Regions from separate parts of the Homo sapiens genome. Here regions 1, 3 and 4 are each linked to region 2. Evidence: promoter capture Hi-C in 16 types of primary human blood cells and fetal thymus (Javierre and others, 2016). All regions are on one chromosome and are shown on one strand. The core of a region is centred on a gene start or on the middle of the fragment in contact, and the rest is flanking DNA. Distances in the headings are between cores, read along the strand shown.

Region 1 (3,364 bases), core at 465-2,964, 280 kb after region 2:
GATTTTAATTATGTCTTACGTGAAATGCAGAAGAAATAAAAAACAATGCAGGAAGGGCGTAACCATTGTCAGGGAGAGGAATCAAACTGGTGTGATCTCAGGAAGCAAAACAAGGACAAAAGTATGAAGCCGTAGAGAAAAGAAATTTTATTCTAGCAGATCTGCCAAAGAACAGAAACCATTCTAATAATTTCATAGATCTATCAAAAGACAAAACAGGAATGTAACCTCTCCTTAAGTGAATCCACCAAACCATATGGAGATTGAAGACAAAAAAAAAAAAAAGCTATGTCAAACTTAAGGCCTCTTTCAAGGATGAGAGCCTATGAATCCATAACATCATGTGTTCACAAAGAATTTTTTTCTTGCCTAAGAATGGCTTATGTAAGAAACAGAGAAAATTGTATTAAACCTTACAATTTTCTTTTTTTTTGAGACAGGGTCTCACTCAGTTGTCGAGGCTGAACTATGGTGGCATGATCTTGGCTCACTGCAGCCGCAGCCTCAGCCTCCTGGGCTCAAGCGATCCACCTGCGTGTGACATGCTTTATTGCAATATTTGCTTTATTGTGGTGGTTTGGAACTGAAATCTCAATATCTCTAAGGTATGCCTGACTATGTGTGTGACTGGTTTCAAATACAATACTAACATTTATAGAAGAAAAAGACTGTAAGATAGTAATGCTGAAATTGTTATCTTGTAAATCTCCATTTGGTGAAAGTGAGTGGATTTTTCTTTATACTTTTCACAATTTTCTGTGTTCTATAATGTTTAGATACGGCCGGGTGTGGTGGCTCATGCCTGTAATCGCAGCACTTTGGGAGGCCGAGGGAGGCGGATCACAAGGTCAAGAGATCGAGACCATCCTGGCCAACATGGTGAAACCCCGTCTCTACTAAAAATACAAAAATTAGCTGGGTGCGGTGGCACATGCCTGTAATCCCAGCTACTCGGGACGCTGAGGCAGGAGAATTGCTTGAACCAAGGAGTCGAAGGTTGCAGTGAGCTGAGATTGCGCCATTGCACTCCAGCCTGGAGACAGAGTGAGACTCCGTTTAAAAAAAAAAAAGTTTAGATATGTACTTACCATTGTTACAGCTGCCTATAGTATTCAATACAGTGACATGCAGTGCAGGTTTACAGCCAAAGAGCAATAGGCTACACAACATAGCTTCGGTTTTTAGTAGGCTATGCCATCTACGTTTATTTAAGTACACTCTAGGATGTTCAAAGGATAAAATTCCCTAATGACACATTTTTCAGAACATACTCTTTTTTTTTTGAAGACAGAGTCTTGCTCTGTCACCCAGGCTGGAGTGCAATGGTGCGATCTCGGCTCACTGCAACTTCCGCCTCCTGGGTTCAAACGATTTTCCTGCCTCCGCCTCCGGGGTAGCTGGGATTATAGGCGCCTGCCACCACGCCCAGCTAATTTTGTATTTTTTTTTAGTAGGGACGGGGTTTCACCATGTTGGTTAGGCTGGTCTTGAACTCCCGACCTCAAGTGATCTGCCCGCCTTGGCCTCCCAAAGTGCTGGGATTACAGGTGTGAGCCACCGCACCTGGCCTCAGAACATATTCTTGATGTTAAGCAACGCATGACTTTTTTTCTTTTCTTTTCTTGAGATGAGTCTTGCTCTGTCGCCCAGGCCGGAGTGCAGTGGCACCACCTCCGCTCACTGCAACCTCCGCCTCCCAAGTTCAAGCGATTCTTCTGCCTCAGCTTCCCAAGTGGCTGGGACTACAGGCCAGTGACACCATGCCCGGCTAATTTTTGTATATATATTTTTTTAGTTGAGATGGGGTTTCACCGTATTGGCCAGGCTGGTCTCAAACTCCTGACCTCATGATCTGCCTGCCTCGGCCTCCCAAAGTGCTGGGGTTACAGGCGTGAGCCACGGTTCCTGGCTCAACTTTTTTTTTTTTTTTTTTTTAAATAATGACAGAAAGAATCTCAGCATAAAAAATATAAGAAGTGACAACAGAGTCTGTTCTTTCTGGTTAATAAACCTCTAGAAAATTGTAAAGTTTAGGCTGGGCACGGTGGCTCACGCCTGCAGTTCTAGCACTTTGGAAGGCTGAAGCTGGCGGATCACCTGAGCCCAGGAGTTTGAGACCAGCCTGGGCAACGTGGCGAAACCCCATCTCTGCAAAAAATACAAAAACTTGCCAGATGTGGTGGGGCACACCTGTAGTCCCAGCCACTTGGAGGGCTGAGGTGGGGGAATCGGTTGAGACCAGGGGTTCGAGTCTGCAGTGAGCCCTGACAACACCACTGCACTCCAGCTTGAGTGACAGAGTAAGACTCTGTCTCTAAAAACAAACCAATAAATTTTTAAAAAGTTACATTTACACTATACTATAGTCAATTAAGTGTGCAATAGCATTATGTATTAAAAACAATATCCATATGTTAGTTAAAAAAATACTTTATAGCTAAAAAACTCTTAACAATCATCTGAGTCTCCAGCAAATCATATTCTTTTTGCTGGTGGAGGGTCTTGCCTTGATGATGACTGATCATGGTAGCTGGGACTGCAGGCATGCACCACCACACCCAGCTAATATTTGTATTTTTAGTAGAGACAAGGTTTCACCATGTTGGCCAGGATGGTCTCGATCTCTTGACCTCGTGATCTGCCTGCCTTGGCCTCCAAAGTGTTGGGATTACAGGTGTTAAAAGCCACCATGCCTGGCCTTAATGTTGATATTTTGACCTCTCCCTATGAATCACAAATGTTCTTCATGCCATCTAGAATGGTGAATCCTTTCCAGAAGGTTTTCAATTTCCTTTGCCCAGATCCATAAAAGGAATCATTATTAGCGGCAACTATAGCCTTACAAAATGTCTTTCTTTCTTTTTTTAATAATAGAGACTACGTCTCGCAATGTTGCCCAGGCTGATCTCAAACTCCTGAGCTCTAGAGATCTTCCCATCTCGGACTTCCAAAGTGCTGGGATAACAGGCGTGTGCCACCGTGCCCAGCCTGTATTTTTTCTTTTTATTTGAGACGGAGTTTTGCTCGTTGCCCAGGCTGGAGTGCAATGGCGCGATCTCAGCTCACTGCGACCTCTGCCTCCTGGGTTCAAGCAATTGTCCTGCCTCGGCTTCCTGAGTGGCTGGTATTACAGGCGTGTGCCACCATGCCTGGCTAATTTTTATTTTTAGTAGAGACGGGGTTTCACCATGTTGGCCAGGCTGGTCTTGAACTCCTGACCTCAAGTGATCCATCCACTAGCCTTGGCCTCCCAAAGTGCTGGGATTACAGGTGTGAGCCACCATGCCCAGCCCTGTATTTCTTTTTTTTTAATTGAGACGGAGTCTTGCTCTGTTGCCCAGGCTGGAGTGCAGTGGCGATCTTG
Region 2 (3,652 bases), core at 1,118-3,617:
ACAAAATTTGAACTGCTGAGGAATTGCTTCTTTTTTTTTTTTTTTAAGTTAGTGTCTTGCTCTGTTGTCCAGGCTGGAGTACAGTGGCGTGATTTCAGCTCACTGTAACCTCAGCCTCCTGGGTTCAAGCGATTCTCCCACCTCAGCCTCCCTAGTAGCTGGGATTACAGGCGTGCTATCATGCCTGGCTAATTTTTGTATTTTTAGTAGAGACAGGGTTTCACCATATTGGCCAGGCTAGTCTCAAACTCCTGACTTCGTGATCCACCCGCCTCAGCCTCCCAAAGTGCTGGAATTGCTTCTTATGGATGATTGAGGAAAGTGATTTATTGAGATGGAATCGATGGAATCTACTCCTGGTGAAGATGCTGAGAACAAGATTGAAATGGTAACAAAGGATTTAGAATGTTACATAAACTTAGTTGACAAAGTAGCAGCAGGGTTTGAAAGGACTGACTCCAATTCTGAAGGAATTTCTACTGTGGGTAAAATGCTGTAAAACAGCATCACATGCTACAGAGAAATCTTTTATAAAAGGAAGAGTCAATCGATGTGGTGAATGTCATTGTTGTCCTAATTTAAGAAATTGCCACAGACACCCCAACATGCAGCAAACACCTCCCTGATCAGTCAGCAGCCATTAACATCAAGGCAAGGCCCTCCACCGGCAAAAAGATGATTGTTCAGATGATCATTAGCATTTTTTAGGAATAAAGTATTTTAAAATTAAAGTATGTGCATTGTGTTTCTAGACATTATGCTCCTGCACACTTAACAGACTACAGAAAGCATAAGATATGTACAATAAATATATTAAGGGCTGGGCGCAGTGGCTCATGCCTGTAATCCCAGCACTTTGGGAGGCCAAGGCGGGCAGATCACGAGGTCAGGAGATCAAGACCATCCTGGCTAACACGGTGAAACCCTGTCTCTACTAAAAATACAAAAAAATTAGCCGGGTGTGGTGGCGGGCGCCTGTAGTCCCAGCTACTTGGGAGGCTGAGGCAGGAGAATGGTGTGAACCCAGGAGGTGGAGCTTGCAGTGAGCCGAGATCGCACCACTGCACTCCAGCCTGGGCGACAGACAGAGCAAGACTCCGTCTCAAAAAAAAAAATTTATATATATATATTAAGATATTAATAGTGTAACCATAATTTTTTTTTTTTGAAACAAGTCTCACTGCCGCCTAGGCAGGAGTGCAGTGGCTCAAACAGGGCTCACTGCCACTGCAAACTCCTGGGCTCAAGGGATCCTCCTGCCTAAGCCTCCTGAGTAGCTGAGACTACAGGTGTGTGCCACAACCTCTGCCTAATTTTTTTTATTTTTTGTAGAGACAGGGTCTCACTTTGTTGCCCAAGCTGATCCCCAATTTCTGGCCTCAAGCAATTGTTCCGCCTCAGCCTCCCAAAGTGCTGGGATTATTGGCATGAGCCACCACATCTAGCCAACATAACTTTTATACACATGGAAAACTAAAAAATTGTGTAATTTGCTTTATTATGTTGTTTGCTTTATTGGAGGGTCTGGAACTGAACTTGCAATATCTCCAAGGTATGCCTGTAATTGAATGTTTACACTGGTAAGAAATGTATTTGGATATATAATAATCTGTAAACTAAGAAGCTTGTACTACTGAATAATCTCCAACTATTAATACCTACCCACTCTGATTTTATTTTGTTTCTAAATGAGACAAATTACATTCAAAGCTATCCATTGTCCCCAATGACATAACACAGTGGAAGTGGCTAAGTAGAAGACTGCTAAAGCAAATGGTTTCCTGAAGATACAGGAGATTGGAAGGTGGGAATGCAATTTGTGGTAGTTCCAATGAGAAAATCAAAAGTCAGCCGGGTGTGGTGGCTCACGCCTGTAATCCCAGCACTTTGGGAGGCCGAGGGAGGCAGGTCACCTGAGGTCGGGAGTTTGAGACCAGCTTGGCCAACATGGCAAAACCCCGTCTCTACTAAAAATACAAAAATTAGCTGGGCATGGTGGCGGACGCCTGTAATCCCAGCTACTTGGGAGGCTGAGGCAGGAGAATTGCTTGAACCCTGGAGGCAGAGGTTGCAGTGAGCCAAGATCATGCCACTGCACTTCAGCCTGGACGACAAGAGCAAAACTCCGTCTCAAAAAAAAAAAAAAAAAAAAAAGAAAGAAAATCAAAAGTCAGAAAAACAATCAGAAATTCAGTAACTGCACATGCAGTTACTTAACCTTCCCCCTTCTGTCTGGCTTTTCCACTGCCTGAGACGTGGCGCTGAGGCTTCCCGTGTCTGAGGCTCCCAGTGCGCCTTGCGCTGCGCTTGGCGGGAAAGGTGACCTCGACCAGGGGTCAAAAAGCCACTGTCGCGCCCCAGCGGGTGACCGTTGAAGGAAAGCGCATGCGCGTCGGGCACAGCGCGTGCAGCCTCGTGCAGCTCTTCTGGTCTCCGGCGCCCGCCCCTCAGACGTAATGTAATATATATTAGTGTGTATATATCTGTGTGTGTGTGCGTATATTTTACTTTTTAATCTCTTTGTCTGTCAGCTTCCCCCTACTTTTAAGTTTCTTAAGGTCTTAGTGGTAAAACATTTGCGGTAAAAATGTATACCCACTTACTTGTCAACAGAGGTTCTTGAGATGGGGTGAGTACGGACGGCGAATTCAGGATTTGTCAGGATAAATTTAAACGTTTAACGTAAATAGGTTCTTCTATGAAGTTTGCCTCTTTAGTAAACTCTTCCAGCTGAATTGTCTGATTAAGAAAAGTGAAACTGGGGCCGGACACAGTGGTTCCGGACACACAACTTCCTGTAATCCCAGCAAGTTGGGCGGCTGAGGCCGGAGGATCATTTGAGACCAGCCTGACCAACATGGCGAAACCCCGTCTCCACTAAAAATAGAAAAAAAAATTAGCGGCCGGGCACGGTGCTTCACGCCTATAATCCCAACACCTTGGGGGCCGAGGCGGGCGGATCACGAGGTCAGGAGTTTCCTGGCCAACATGGTGAAACCCCGTGTCTACTAGAAATACAAAAATTAGCTGGGCGTGGTGGCACGCCTGGAGTCCCAGCTACTCAGGAGGCTCAGGCAGGAGAATCACTTGAACCCAGAGGGGGAGGTTGCGGTGAGCCGAGATCGCGCCATTACACTCCAGCCTGGGCAACAGAGAGAGACACCGTCTCGAAAAAAAAAATTGTATATATATATATGGTGGGCACCTGTGGTCCCAGCTACTCGGGAGGCTGAGGCAGGAGAATCGCTTGAACCCGGGAGGCGGAGCTTGCAGTGAGCTGAGATCGCGCCACTGCACTCCAGCCTGGCGACAGAGCGAAACTCCGTCTCAAAAAAATGAAAAATAAAAACAAATAAAACTGAAAAAGTTTAGAGGGTTTGCCAGGCAATTTTTCATTACTGAATACCTACCTGTACAATGTTGTCATTGTTTGAATTTGTATAGGGAATAAAAATAGGAAGATTGTGCCTTTTTAAAAAGTTCTCTTAAACAGTTTCTTAATAACCCATTTGTTTGAGACTTGCTAGTCAAATGGCTTCAAATCAGGACCCTACTCAAAATGGTTCTACTGCAATATCGACCTCTACGTTTTTGAAGACTCTATTTTAATTAAAGAAATTCAAATTTATTCACATAAAATTGTTTTGAATTT
Region 3 (3,512 bases), core at 874-3,373, 340 kb after region 2:
GCGCACGCCACCATGACGGTCTAATTTTTGTTTTTTTTTAGTAGACACAGGGTTTCGCCATGTTGGCCAGGCTGGTCTTGAACTCCTCACCTTGTGATCTGTCTGCTCGGGCCTCCCAAAGTACTGGGATTACAGGCATGAGCCAATTCAGCTGGGCCTTTTTTTTTTTTTTTTTTTTAATGAAGTCTCACTCTGTTGCCCAGGCTGATGTGCAGTGGCACCATCTCGGCTCACTGCAACTTCCACCTCCGGGTCCAAGGGATTATCCTGCCTCAGCCTCCCAAGTGGTTGGGATTACAGGCGCGCACCACCATGCCTGGCTAAGTTTTGTATTTTTAGTAAAGATGGGGTTTCTTCATTTTGGCCAGGCTGGTCTCGAACTCCTGACCTCATGTGATCCACCCGCCTTGGCCTCTCAAGTTGCTGGGATTACAGGCACTCAGTGAGCCACCCTGTCTAGCCAATAAATTATTTCTTAATTAAAAATAACTATATTTTGTAAAACAAAAATTTAGTGGGAGCAAATTGTTTTTCATTTTTGCAAATCTGTTTAATGGTCTGGCTTAAAAGGAGAGAAGTGTGTTCTTCTACTTGCTTCTATATGAGAATGGGCAGGTGCAAGGCTGTTTGGGAACTTTTATCCTGTATATACCACACTGTCCATGGAACACTATAAAATACCAATATACTCTGAAAGAAGCAGGAAGCCGTCTACCATAATGGTAAAGTGTAGGCCTTGGAGTCAAGACTGCTTAAGTTTGCAACCTGGCTCTATTGTTCATTAGTTGTGTACCTTGAACAAGTTATTTTAACCTCACTGAGCCCTCAAGTACTTAATTTATTGTCATTTATAGGGTTTATTATTTTACCTGTCACCAGTGTAATTTACATATACATCACTAATAGATTTACTCAGTAATAATACATTAACTAATGAATTGTTATATTAAATGAAATCACATAAGAACTCAGTAAATGTTATTTTCTTACTAAACTATTAGTGTTATGTTTGTAAAATTAACTACATTAATGACTGGAAATATAAGATTATTAAGTAATAACAACATACTTGTAAGCAACTTGGGCTTTGAATCCACCGTATTTCTTTTCTTTCTCCCACTTACCTTCACGTGACTTCTGCTTATATAAAACAAAATTAAGCTTATGCTTAGCCACTCTGAAACCAGGCACGTTTCCTTTTCCTACACTATAAATGTTCTGACAATTTCCCCAAAATAATCAATTTACTTCTCTGAGACTCAATTTATAAATTTTTAATAAATTTATAAATTCAACTGTTACACATCTATATTTTATAAATTCATATTTTTTATAAATTTACAAATTCATATTTTGCAGAGCTGACATCAAGATTATAGGTAATACATGTATGATAGCTAGTAAGGATCCTCAGTAAACAATAAGGATCCAGCAATCCAACCAAAGTGATACCTATTCTAAACTGTTAGAGCATATAAAACTCATATTATTATACTTCCCAGAACCAGTTATATGTGTTCAATTCCTATCTTACTTACTAAATGTTTTTTTTTTTTTTTTGAGACGCAGTCTTGCTCTGTCGCCCAGGCTAGAGTGCAGTGGTACGATCTCGGCTCACTGCCAGCTCTGTCTCCCAGGTTCACACCATCCTCCTGCCTCAGCCTCCCGAGTAGCTGGGACTACAGGCGCCCGCCACCACGCCTGGCTAATTTTTTGTATTTTTAGTAGAGACGGGGTTTCACCGTCAGCCAGGATGGTCTCAATCTCCTGACCTCGTGATCCGCCCGCCTCGGCCTCCCAAAGTACTGGGATTACAGGCGTGAGCCACCGCGCCCGGCCCATTTACTAAATGTTAAGTTCCTTATAATTCCATCTCTTTCAGCACCCAATACAGGGGTTTACATAGAGGAAGTACTCAATATTTCCTTTCTTTTTTTCTTTTTTTTTCTGGAGATAGTCTCGCTCTGTCACCAGGCTGGAGTGTAGTGGCGTAATCTCAGCTCACTGCAACTGCTGCCTCCTGGGTTCAAGCAATTCTCCTGCCTCAGCCTCCCGAGTAGCTGAGACTACAGGCACATGCCACCACGCTCAGCTAATTTTTGTATTTTTAGTAGAGACAAGGTTTCACCATGTTGGCCAGGCTGGTCTCAAACTCCTGACCTCAGGTGATCTCCCCACCTTGGCCTCCCAAAGTGCTGGGATTACAGGCGTGAGCCACAGCGCCCGGCCAGCACTCAGTATTTCTAAGTTCATTTTCTCATTCTGTATCTTTAGGCATAACATATTATAAGAGAATTTTAATCTTTCAAGTAATACTGCCTCCTAGACACAAAGATCATCATTTTAAAAGACTGTATCGGCCGGGCGCGGTGGCTCACGCCTGTAATCCCAGCACTTTGGGAGGCCAAGGCGGGCGGATCACGAGGTCAGGAGATCGAGACCATCCTGGCTAACACGGTGAAACCCCTTCTCTACTAAAAATACAAAAAATCAGCCGGGCGTGGTGGCGGGCGCCTGTAGTCCCAGCTACTCAGGAGGCTGAGGCGAGAGAATGGCGTGAACCCGGGAGGCGGAGCTTGCAGTGAGCCGAGATGGCGCCACTGCACTCCAGCCTGGGCAACAAACAGAGCAAGATTCCGTCTCAAAAAAAAAAAAAGACTGTATCATGCTACACTCTAAAACTATGATGACAGTAAAGGAACACAAAAACAGCTCAGGATCCATTCTAGGTTTTTTAAAACAAAAAATGTTAAGTTATAATCCCAAACATTAAAAGATCCTTTTTTCCTTTCACAGTGCAACTTTTACTAAAGGGTAATAAAGAATCACTCTCTCTCTCTGCTAATGGATTCCAGAGAACTAGAAAGTGCAAGTAAGTGAAATTAATTATAAGAGAAAGAAGTGAAGAAAGAGAGATGAGGGAGAGATCAAGGCCTCAATCAAACACTAGTAAAATTTAAACCCAGCAAACCAAACATTTTCATTTCCTTCATCAAAGAGCCTCTATTTCAATATTTCTCTAAAAACAAGAGAATAAGAATGAAGCATTTTTAAAAACTATCTTTATCTTAGCCAGAAAAGCTTTAATATTTCAAAGCACAGATGGAATTGTTGCCTTTTCTCAAAAGGAATAACTAGGTTCTACTACTTTCTCCCTAAGATGTACATTCCTCCAGTGTTCTATAATTAATATCTGTGGGGGCAGTGGAATTTGAAATCACTACGAAACACAACTACTTTTTGTTTCCTTGACAAATAGATGAGAAAGTCAGTCAAGCTGGTTTGTAAATTGTTCTGTTCTTGGGTAATTTTTATTAGGGTCTCTGAGTTCCTTCAACAAATTAAACCTCATGTATCCTTAATTCTCAATTGAAATTTTAAAACAACTGACCAAAATCTCCCCTTTTGACTTTTAAAAGTACTGCTGTAAAACAATAAACACCTGGAAAAAGTGGGAGGAAAAAAGAGAACATAACTGACAAAAGCCTAGGAGGAAGAAAGAATTTTGATGC
Region 4 (3,134 bases), core at 139-2,638, 260 kb after region 2:
ACAGATGCATGCCACCATGCCCAGCTAATTTTTGTATTTTTAGTAGACAGGGTTTCACCAAGTTGGCCAGGCTGGTCTTGAACTCCTGACTTCAGGTGATCCGCCTGCCTTGGCCTCCCAAAGTGCTGGAAATACAGGCGTGAGCCACCAAACCTGGCCTAATTTTTGTTTTTTGTTTTTTTTTGAGACGGAGTATTGCTCTGTCGCCCAGGCTGTGCAGTGGCGCGATCCTGGCTCACTGCAAGCTCCGCCTCCTGGGTTCAGGCCATTCTCCTGCCTTAGCCTCCCGAGCAGCTGGGACTACAGGCGCCCGCCACCATGCCTGGCTATTTTTTTGTATTTTTAGTAGAGACGGGGTTTTACCATGTTGGCCAGGATGGTCTCGATCTCTTGACCTCGTGATCCACCCGCCTCGGCCTCCCAAAGTGCTGGGATTACAGGTGTGAGCCACCACGCTCGGCCATAATTTTTGTTTTTTTAAGTAGAGATGGGGTTTCGCCATGTTGTCCAGGTTTGTCTCCAACTCCTGGCCTCAAGTGATCAACCTGCCTCCACCTCCCAAAGTGGTGGCGTGAGCCACCACACCTGGCCCTATAGTATTCTTCATAACAGTAAAAAACTGGAAACATACTAAGTGCCTAATAATAAAGGATTAGATAAGTTACCACATGCTATGCAGCTATTAAAAATGATGTAGAGAAATATTTAATGATTCATAAAAACATTCAAGATATGTAATTAACTTTTAAATAGCTAGTTTTGAAACAGTATATGCAATACACTTACTTTTTTAAAAATTGTTATACATATTTAATTCTCCAAAACATTCATATACACATATACTTTTAAGGGTAAACACAAGTGGTTTCCTTTGGGGTAACAGGATTATAGATATTTATTAAAAAATTTTTTTCATTTAAAATTTTTTATTTAGAGATAGGGTCTCACTATATTGCCAAGGCTGGTCTCGAACTCCTGGCCTCAGGCAATCTACCATCTCAGCCTCCCAAAGTGCTGGGATTACAGGCATGAGCCACCACGCCTGGCCTAGATATTTATTTCATTCTCTTTGCTTATTTTCTAATTTTTCTATAATGACCGATTATTGGATTATTTTTTAATTTAACAATTAATTTAGCTGGGTGCGCTGGCTCACGCCTGTAATCCCAGCACTTTGGGAGGCCAAGATGGGTGGATCACCTGAGGTCAGGAGTTTGAGACCAGCCTGACCAACATGGTGAAACCCCGTCTCTACCAAAAATACAAAATTAGCTGGGCATGGTGGCACATGCCTGTAGTCCCAGCTATTTGGGAGGCTAAGGCAGAATTGCTTGAACCTGGGAGATGGAGGCTGCAGTGAGTGAAGTTTGCACCATTGCACTCCAGCCTAGGTAACATGACTGAAACTCCGTCTCAGAAAAAAAAAAAAAAATCATTAATTAAAAAAAATCAACAACAGACTGGGCACGGTGACTCACGCCTATAATCCCAGCACTTTGGGAGGCCGAGGTGGGTGTATCACCTGAGGTCAGAAGTTCAAGACCAGCCTGGCCAACATGGTGAAACCCCATCTCTACTAAAAATACAAAAATTAGCCGGGCGTGGTAGCAGGTGCCTGTAATCCCAGCTACTTGGGAGGCTGAAGCAGCAGAACACTTGAACCCGGGAGGCAGAGGTTGCAGTGAGCCAAGATTGCACCACTGCACTCCTGCCTGGGAGACAGAGCGAAACTCTGTCTAAACAACAACAACAACAACAACAACAACCCCCCCAAAAACAGATTAATGATTCAATTTAAAAAGATGGAAATTAACTTTTTATCCTCCTTACTGGGCTTACTTACCAGTATTTTTCATGACTGATGTTAAACTGCTAAGGATGGAACTGATCTTTGCCAGATCCACATTAGCCAGGTTTGGCAAAGCCAATGCTGGGGAAGGGGAAAGAGAAGTATTCACAGGCTTTGGAAGAGGTGGAGTTGCTGTCATGGTCACAGGCACTGGGGTACATGAAGAGGCCTTTGAGATATTTTCTGTTGGCTTTGTAGGTACAGAAGTGGATACAGCTGACTTCTCTGCAGGTTTTTCCTTCCTGTCCTCGACTGTTTCAACAAAGAAAAGAGATATTACATCCTACTACTTTCCAGACTTTGCTTCCTATATGAAATAACATGTCCTAATATTTCCGGACTTGGGGGAAAAGGCACTACTTTAGAGAAAACAACGACTCACTTCATGCTTTTTTGAAAAAGTCATACTCTTCATAATTTATGATAATTCCCACCTTTAATATCTGCTTAAAAGCAATTTCCAGCTGGGGACAATGGCTCATGTGAGGTCAGGATTTCGAGACCAGCCTGGTCAACATGGTGAAATCCTGCCTCCACAAAAAATACAAAAAATTAGCTAGGTGTGGTGGCAGGCGTCTATAATCCCAGCTACTACAGAGGCTGAGACACGAGAATCGCTTGAACCCAGGAGGCAGAGGTTGCAATGAGCCGAGATTGTGCCACTGCATTCCAGCCTGGGCAACAAAGCGAGACTCCCGTCTCAAAAAAAAAAAAAAAAGCAAGCAATTTCCAGAATTTATCTTGTATCTTACTTTTCAATGATTCCTTTGCATTTTCTTAGTATTTGTGTATTAAATCTGTACAATTCAAGAAGCATGTTATTATTTGGTACACATTTGTGTTCTGTCTTTTGGAAATGATATTTTTCATAAATTGTCCTGTGTTTTTCTTTTCCATTAACCTGAGAACTTTCTAAGAACTTCTGTTCTTAGAAACAGAACCTCTATAGTGTTCATTGTATTTTCCTCTGGCTTCCTGAAATTGCCCTATTGGGGGGTGCAATCAGGCACTAGCTAATTTGAAACTACAATGTTTTAACTCTCAATCACCTTGAATAATTATTTTTAATGCTTTAAGGGCTGTATCAATAGTGCATTGAATTCAACAGGAGTCAAACTATCTAATAAGATTTATGAAGGCTGGGGATATAAGAGAAACAATTCACCAAATCAGGTTATTTCTGAAAGTGTGATTAACAAACTGACTTTGGAATTCTTGATGGTCAAAAGTGACAGAGAATAAGGAATTCCAGTATAAGTGACCCCTCATCCCAAAACAGTGCTAT

What was found. Contacts are between HindIII fragments. The CHiCAGO score rates a contact against its expected background, and 5 or more counts as called.
Region 1: a contact is called between a fragment that was not itself captured here and the fragment with the promoter of HORMAD1 in region 2, in 4 of 17 cell types (monocytes, neutrophils, erythroblasts and 1 more). The highest score is 6.8, in monocytes.
Region 3: a fragment that was not itself captured here is called in contact with the fragment with the promoter of HORMAD1 in region 2 in 1 of 17 cell types (monocytes); the score reaches 5.1 in monocytes.
Region 4: a contact is called between a fragment that was not itself captured here and the fragment with the promoter of HORMAD1 in region 2, in 1 of 17 cell types (neutrophils). The highest score is 7.0, in neutrophils.

The regions. Positions count from the first base shown.
Region 1 is chr1:150,436,549-150,439,912 of GRCh38, reverse strand. The region is part of intron 2 of RPRD2 (regulation of nuclear pre-mRNA domain containing 2); the gene reads right to left. Among named protein-coding and RNA genes, the nearest start is that of TARS2, 49 kb to the left of the region's middle. The HindIII fragment of the contact is 5,634 bases long and covers 1-3,364 here.
Region 2 is chr1:150,719,610-150,723,261 of GRCh38, reverse strand. HORMAD1 (HORMA domain containing 1) reads left to right here and starts at 2,367. Exons shown (of 15, transcript NM_032132.5): 1 at 2,367-2,458. The HindIII fragment of the contact is 2,080 bases long and covers 1,627-3,652 here.
Region 3 is chr1:150,375,646-150,379,157 of GRCh38, reverse strand. All of the region lies in intron 1 of RPRD2 (regulation of nuclear pre-mRNA domain containing 2), which reads right to left. Among named protein-coding and RNA genes, the nearest start is that of RPRD2, 13 kb to the right of the region's middle. The HindIII fragment of the contact is 1,920 bases long and covers 1,164-3,083 here.
Region 4 is chr1:150,459,027-150,462,160 of GRCh38, reverse strand. RPRD2 (regulation of nuclear pre-mRNA domain containing 2) reads right to left here. Exons shown (of 11, transcript NM_015203.5): 9 at 1,844-2,101. Among named protein-coding and RNA genes, the nearest start is that of TARS2, 27 kb to the left of the region's middle. The HindIII fragment of the contact is 5,293 bases long and covers 1-3,134 here.